2 separate regions of the Homo sapiens genome follow, and region 1 is linked to region 2. The links are contacts of gene promoters, found by promoter capture Hi-C in human tissues and cell types (Jung and others, 2019). All regions are on one chromosome and are shown on one strand. The core of a region is centred on a gene start or on the middle of the fragment in contact, and the rest is flanking DNA. Distances in the headings are between cores, read along the strand shown. Region 1 overlaps LINC02734 (long intergenic non-protein coding RNA 2734). Region 2 holds the start of FAM181B (family with sequence similarity 181 member B).

Region 1 (4,032 bases), core at 447-2,946, 71 kb before region 2:
TGGGTAGTTATGACAGAATAGTTTCCACTTTTTGTTTGTTTCTTTGAACTGGGATTTTGTTCCAAAGTTTTGCTTGTTTCTAGTATCTGCTTCTGCCTCCCCCTCTATCAGACTGGCTTCCTCCATGGCCACCACCTTGGTGCTCTGTGGCTTGAACTGCTGTAGGAATCACGTGGAGGAGGGTGCCCCCTTTCCATAGAAGGAGGAAGCCCTCTTTCTTATCTGCCAACCCGATCACGACCACTTGAGTAGAGATCACTTCAGCTGCTGAGTAACTGTCTGACTTCCACCATATCCATCACGTGAGCTGCTGTAATCATCATAGCGACTGCTTCCGCCGTAAGCTGGCAGGGGCCCTCGTGTATGTCCAGCACTACTTGAGTTACCATAACTCTCATATGAATCTCTGTAGGAACCTCCATTTGGATGATCTGAATAGTCAAGATCACGACCATATCCCTCTCTATCGCCATAGCCTCTTGATGGATAGTCATCACGTGAACTGGAATGACCATAGTCACGGTAAGTATAATCTTGTGGTGGTGGTGTATAATCTCTTGTATCACGAGAACTTGGGTAATCTTTGCTGGAATAGCTGTCTTTAGTAGAATACACATCATCTCTTGGGGACAAATAAATATCTCTGTGAGAGGGCAGCGGTTCCCTTCGAGGTGGACCTCCGTAACTATCTCTTCCACGTGATACAGGAGCTCTTCCTCCCATTCCACTGCTGCTGCAAACTGGTCCTGAAAGTGCAGATCTCTTAGGAGGAGGACCCGCACTTCTTAATGGGGGTCCTCTTTTTACTGGGAGTAATCCCCTGGAAGAACTCATGTTAAAATTCATGGACTATCCACCATCATACATGTGTCCTCCCCGTGAGGGAGGTCTCCTGGTTCCTCCACTTCCTCCTCTTCCACCTCTAAGACCTCTTGGAGGGCCTCTACTTCTTGGAGGTGGAGGGGTCCACGTCTACTACTTTCAAATGATGGTTTGGTGGTTTGTTCCACCTTAATGGCTTTTCCATCTAGTGACTTTCCATACACGTCTCTGGCTGCATCCTTATCGTCTCCTGGGCTATCAAAGGTGACAAAAGCAAATCCTCTTTATCTGTTCGTTTCATCAAGAGTACTTCCACTATTCGTCCATATTTGCCAAATACTACTTCAAGACTTTTCTCACTTGTTTCCGTATTAAGCCCACAAATGAAGAGCTTTCCTGGGCGATCTACTTCAACCATTTTTTGTTTGTTTGTTTTTGTTTGCCGGTGAGTCAGAGGAGTAACAATGGGTTCGAGCTTCAACAAGCTTGCAGACAGGGGCTTCCTAGCAGCTCAGCACCAGTGGTGGCTGCCCGGTCCAAGGACCGAACCTTGAAGTCGCTAGCACTACTGCACAACAAAAACAATTTCTTCTTTGTCTATTCTTCTGTAGCTAGACATCTGGGTTATTTAAAGTTTCGGCTATTATAAATAAAGCTCTTATGAGTATTACATTACAAAACTTTTTGTGAATATTTGTACATGTTTATTTTAGGCATATACCTAAGAGTGGAATTGCTTGGTAGATATATGTTTATGTTTATGATAATTGTTAGACCAATTTCTAAAATTGGCTTAAAATTGTAGAGTTCCACTCACAATGCATGAAGGTTCAAATTACTCTATCTCCTTGATTACTTTTTGTGGCCAATCTTTTTTTAAAATTTGGCCATTCTGGTGGGTGTGTAATGGCATCTCATTTTGGTTTTATTTATTTTTTTTTTGAAAAGCGTGTGTTTTTAGTTTTTATGAAGTTGGATTTATTATTTTTTGTGTGAGAAAGAAAGTGACTTTTGTGTCTTAACTAAAACACTTTTGCCCACTCCAAGGTCATGAAAATACTCTCTACGTTTTCTTCTAGGATCTTTATAGTTTTAGCTTTCACATTTAGGTCTGTGACACAGATTTAATTACTCATTTATGTGCTGTGAGGTAGGGGTTAAGGTTAATTTTTATAAGTTTCAAACATATGTAAAAATATAATAGTATGATGAGCCCCCAAGTACCCATCACTCTGCTTTGATAATTATCATGGCCAATATTGTTAGATATATTCTCCTCACCCACTTTCCTTAATTCAAACTGAATTATTAGTAAGAAAATTTCTGATATCATACTTTTCATTATTACTATTTCAGTATATATCTCTAAGAGATAAGGAGTGTTTAAAAAACAATGCAACCACAACACTCCTATTATATCTAAGCAAGTAACCATAATTCCTCAATATCATCAAATATAGAATGATTTTCCACATTTTCCCAGTTGTCTCATAAATTTAAAAAATTATTTTTTTTATGTTATTTTTTTGAGATGGAGTTTCACTCTTGTTGCCCAGGCTGTAGTGCAATGGTGTGATCTCGGCTCACTGCAACCTCTGCCTCCTGATTCAAGCAATTCTCCTGCCTCAGCCTCCCAAGTAGCTGGGATTACAGGCATGTGCCACCGTACCCAGCTAATTTTATTGTATTTTTTAGTAGAGATGGGGTTTCACTATGTTGGTCAGGCTGGTCTCGAACTCCTGACCTCAGGTGATCCACCCACCTTGGCCTCCCAAAGTGTTGGGATTACAGACATGAGCCACCGCGCCTGGCTAAAAATTAGTTTATTTTTAAAACTAAACTACGATCCAAGTGATTTCTTTTTATTGATTTGGTTGCAAAGTCTTGCAAGTATAATTTAATAAATATACTTCTACCCTTTACAAGTTATTTGTTGAAGAAATGTTGACATTTTTTCCCCTATAGTTTCCCATACTCCACATTTTGCTGTTTGAATCTCTTTGGTGTGATTTAAAATGTTCCCTCTCTTCTGAAATTGCTGCGAACTGATGATTAAATCAACACTCCCCAAGGGGCTCAAAGACACATCCAAATGGCTCAGGACCTGTGAATTCACTGGCTAGGAGAAATGGCAACAAGTTTGATCTCCTCTAAATTAATGTTTCCAATTTCTCTTCTTCCTTTCTTACAGAATACAAAGGGAGAAATCCTCTCATTCTGAGTAGCTCCATTCTTCCCCTGTTGGCCTCCTGGGTCAAGTGGGTCAAATATTCCTTTCTGTTCAGAGGTCCCTTGGTGCAGTGGGGCCCTTTCTGCTCCACACTGGGGCATAATTTGGTATACTCACTTACCTGGATTAGGAACCTGAGCTACCTCTTCCTTCAGGTACAGAGATCTTGGTGCAGTGACACCCCCTCTACTCCATGCCTGGATTTATCTCCAGGCATTCAGCACACCCACTGTTTAGGTGTTTAGGCCACCCCTCCTTTCCTGGGTGGAAAACTTGGGGAAGCAGAAGTTTCTCCACTCCATACTCAGGCACAACTCTAGGTGCTTGGTGGCTGCCTTCTGGACTTTACTTTGGAGCCAGTGCTTACACCTGCCACTGGGGGATGAAGAGGTGGGCCTGCCCAATTTGGCAGGCCAAGCTTGGTCTCTCCTGGAACTGAGCAGGGAGCTCAGACCACTGTGCATTCCACAGGATGGTCTATTGCCTGAGGCAACAGGGAGCATCTTATGGCAAACAAAGATCAAGCATATACCCATTTACCTCAGCTGCACCTGGCTGTTACCCATAAGCATCACCCACAGACTGAGGATGAACTGCACAAGCCAAAATATACTTTGCTGACATAAGCACACAGCAGTGGGGAACTAGATTAGCTTCCTGAGGCCTCTGCTACACGAGCCATGCAGGAGGCAGAGAGCCTGCTCATCTGCCCAGTACATTGCTAGCACAGCCAGCATTTAAGAAAGCTACTGTACAAAAGCTATCTGTAACTAAGGAAACTACACAAAGTCTTTGCCACTGGAAGCACCCAGAACCAAAGCCAAAGGACTCAATACCATAAAAATTGTAGTCAAATCCTTGAGAGAGAGAAAAATATCTCATCCCAATGAAAGTAAATTCAAAAATAAGCAGAAGAGATAGCTTACCCAGATGAGAAGGAACCAGAAGAACAGTTCTGAAAGTATTTAAAGATAGTGTTA
Region 2 (4,027 bases), core at 1,493-3,992:
GAAGCCTATGGAATGGCCCTGTTGGAAAGGGGATGGGCAGTGCTGACATCCACATCTGGAGTGGAAGAAGCACAAATCAGTGACAGGTCTGCACAATTTTCTGAATGTGAATACCACCAAGAGTAAAACAGACAGTTCGGCCATGGAGGACAAAATGCTGTGTGTAACTCAAATGAAAAGTCCATGATAATTGAGCCAATTTGAATTTAAAATAAAAAGTTTGGCTCAGCTATGTGGGTTTGGGAAGTGGCTACTTCATCTTCTAAATGAAAAATGTTCATCTGGCCTTTTTTCTTTCTTTCTTTTTTATTATACTTTAAGTTCTAGGGTACATGTGCACAATGTGCAGGTTTGTTACGTATGTATACATGTGCCATGTTGGTGTGCTGCACCCATTAACTTGTCATTTACATTAGGTATATCTCCTGACGCTATCCCTCCCCCATCCCCCCACCCCACGACAGGCCCCGGTGTGTGATGTTCCCCACCCTGTGTCCAAGTGTTCTCATTGTTCATTTCCCACCTGTGCAGTGTTTGGTTTTCTGTCCTTGCGATAGTTTGCTCAGAATGATGGTTTCCAGCTTCATCCATGTCCCTACAAAAGACATGAAGTCATCCTTTTTTATGGCTGCATAGTATTCTATGGTGTATATGTGCCACATTTTCTTAATCCAGTGTATCACTGATAGACATTTGGGTTGGTCCCAAGTCTTTGCTATGTGAATAATAGTCTTTGCTATGTGCCACAATAAACATACGTGTGCACGTGTCTTTATAGCAGCAAGATTTATAATACTTTGGGTATATACCCAGTAATGGGATGGCTGGTTCAAATGGTATTTCTAGTTCTAGATCCTTGAGGAATCGCCACACTGTCTTCCACAATGGTTGAACTAGTTTACAGTCCCACCAACAGTATAAAAGTGTTCCTATTTCTCCACATGCTCTCCAGCACCTGTTGTTTCCTGACTTTTTAATGATCGTCATTCTAACTGGTGTGAGATGGTATCTCATTGCGGTTTTGATTTGTATTTCTCTGATGGCCCATCTGGCCTTTTTTCTTTGGTAAGGCTGTGCCTTCATGGTGTTCAAAAATGGTTTCGCTACATCTACAAAGTGAGGCTTAATAAAAAGAGTTTTGAAAGAGATGGTCTATGTCTCTCCTATGCAAGCTCTGTATCGAAACTAGAGTAACTTATTTAGAGAACACTTTATCACACACACAGTGTTTTCATATAGAGACAGTCCCCAACTTATGATGGTTCAACTTTATGATTTTCCAACTTGAATCAGTGTATTACATGCATTTTAACCTACAATATTTTCAACTTACAATGTGTTTATCAGGATGTTGTTGCTCTATCACAAATTGAGAAGCATCTATGATCTCACTTAATGCTCATGAACACCCTATGATCCAGAAGACACGTAAGGGATATAGTCACCTTTTTGTGTTTCAGAGAAGTAAGGGTGAATACTCATCCAGGCTATGGAACAATGTATCATTTAAATATCACAAGTGCCCTGTGGGGAGGGCAACTTTACCTGCATTTAACATGAGTAAGCTAAACAGAGAGAGTACGCTGGTTTGTCTAAAGCCATGCACTCAGCAGAGCAAGGATTTCAACCTAAGTCATGAGGTTATTGAGTGGTGGCTAAGACCAGAACCCAAGCCTCTTCTGAATCTCTTGTGAAAATGACCTTATTGCTCATTTTCTCTATCTATCCCAAAGAGGATTGCCCAGGTGAAATTAGTTTTAAGTGAACTTCATGATGATCCCTGAAATGCAATGAAAATTCCAGGGATAACCTAAATGGTATGACAGGTAGGGGAGAGGTTCCAATCCATCTTTTATTCTAACATGCTGAGAGTTTTATACACACACAGTGTTCTCAAGTAACAGGGGGCTTAGCCAGATCGACTCCTTTCTCCATTGCCTCCTGCTATGTGTTAATAAAAGATGGGCCACTGCTGGCCTCAATTTACTGTTAGCCAATTGTTACTCGTAACAATCAAGTGGCAAACAGTCAAGAAGAAAGAGCACTGGGCTTGAGAATCCTGGGAAAACTCAGGTTAGAATCTTAGGATCAGGTCTAGAGCTTTAAGAAATACTCATTTTCCTTCCCCATCTTAATAGATGAGAAAGGCAAGGGCAAGAGAGGACGCAAGTATTGTCAAGGGCTTAGGAATGGCTTTGGAGTCAGAATGGGCTAGATCTGACTTTGGCCAACTCACTGAACCTCCCTGAGGTGCAGTGTCCACGTTTGTTGAATGGCGATAACATGTAATTCACAGGGCTGTTGTTCAAGGATTAAATGAGATAATAGATGGACAGCGCCTGGCAGAAGCAAGCGCCCAGAAGCTGGTGGGTGTTGTTATACAGCTGGACTGAAACCCACGTCTCTAGACTCCTGCCTTCTTGCCTCAGGAGAGGCACCACCGCAAGTACCTGCAGAAGCCTATCAAGCGCTGCAGCGGCCTCATGGGCCTGAACTGGAGTTTGAGACCAGCCATCTCTTCCTCACCCCTTGCGGTTAGAGGAGTCAAGAGAAACACCACGGGGCAAAGGGAAACGAAGGAGTTAAGGCGTTGAGCTTCAGAAAGCTCAGAAAACTAAAGCGACCCCCCACTCCTCCAAGCCAGGCTAAGTAAGCCCCTCCCCTCTACCACCGGGACGGTCGCCGCGCGCTCCCTCCCTCCGCCCCTTGCTTACAAGACCTAATGAGCTCCCCCGGGAGGCAGCGCAGCGAGCCAGGCCCGGAACTAGTAGGCTGCGCCGCGCGCGCCGCGCCGGGGCGGGAGCTGGGTCTGGGCGGCGGGCAGGAGCTGGCGGGGGCGCACGGGCAGCGCTGCGGACAGCCCGGGAGCCGCGGCGATGGCGGTGCAGGCGGCGCTCCTCAGCACGCACCCTTTCGTGCCCTTCGGCTTCGGGGGCTCCCCGGACGGGCTAGGGGGCGCCTTCGGAGCCCTGGACAAGGGCTGCTGTTTCGAGGACGATGAGACCGGGGCTCCGGCGGGTGCGCTGCTGTCGGGAGCCGAAGGAGGGGACGTGCGCGAGGCCACCCGCGATCTACTCAGCTTCATTGACTCGGCGTCCAGCAACATCAAGCTGGCGCTGGACAAGCCGGGCAAGTCGAAGCGGAAGGTGAACCACCGCAAGTACCTGCAGAAGCAGATCAAGCGCTGCAGCGGCCTCATGGGCGCCGCGCCCCCCGGCCCGCCCTCCCCGAGCGCCGCCGACACGCCAGCCAAACGGCCGCTGGCCGCCCCTAGCGCCCCGACAGTCGCGGCCCCGGCCCACGGCAAGGCTGCCCCCCGGCGGGAGGCGTCGCAGGCCGCCGCGGCCGCCAGCTTGCAAAGCCGAAGTCTGGCCGCGCTCTTCGACTCGCTGCGCCACGTCCCCGGGGGTGCCGAGCCGGCGGGGGGTGAGGTGGCTGCGCCGGCGGCCGGGCTAGGAGGTGCGGGCACTGGGGGCGCGGGAGGGGACGTGGCAGGCCCCGCGGGGGCCACGGCGATCCCAGGGGCCAGGAAGGTCCCGCTGCGGGCACGCAATCTGCCTCCGTCCTTCTTCACGGAGCCGTCCCGGGCAGGCGGCGGCGGGTGTGGCCCGTCGGGGCCGGACGTGAGCTTGGGCGACCTGGAGAAGGGCGCGGAGGCCGTGGAGTTCTTTGAGCTGCTGGGGCCCGACTACGGCGCCGGCACGGAGGCGGCAGTCTTGCTTGCCGCCGAGCCTCTCGACGTGTTCCCCGCCGGAGCCTCCGTACTGCGGGGACCCCCGGAGCTGGAGCCCGGCCTCTTTGAGCCGCCGCCGGCAGTGGTGGGAAACCTACTGTACCCCGAGCCCTGGAGCGTCCCGGGCTGCTCCCCGACCAAAAAGAGCCCCCTGACTGCCCCCCGCGGCGGCTTGACCTTGAACGAGCCCTTGAGCCCCCTGTACCCCGCCGCTGCGGATTCTCCCGGCGGGGAGGACGGGCGGGGCCATTTGGCCTCTTTCGCCCCCTTCTTTCCAGACTGCGCCCTGCCCCC

What was found. The method cuts DNA at HindIII sites, captures the fragments that hold promoters and counts their contacts. A contact is called where the count stands out against the background at its distance.
Region 1: a contact is called between a fragment that was not itself captured here and the fragment with the promoter of FAM181B in region 2, in 2 of the 25 tissues and cell types used here (aorta and pancreas).

Annotation. Positions count from the first base shown.
Region 1 is chr11:82,802,562-82,806,593 of GRCh38, reverse strand. All of the region lies in intron 2 of LINC02734 (long intergenic non-protein coding RNA 2734), which reads right to left. It also overlaps the pseudogene RBMXP3. Among named protein-coding and RNA genes, the nearest start is that of LINC02734, 23 kb to the right of the region's middle. The HindIII fragment of the contact is 4,934 bases long and covers 1-4,032 here.
Region 2 is chr11:82,732,579-82,736,605 of GRCh38, reverse strand. FAM181B (family with sequence similarity 181 member B) reads left to right here and starts at 2,742. Exons shown (of 1, transcript NM_175885.4): 1 at 2,742-4,027. The coding sequence starts at 2,877. The HindIII fragment of the contact is 21,418 bases long and covers 1-4,027 here.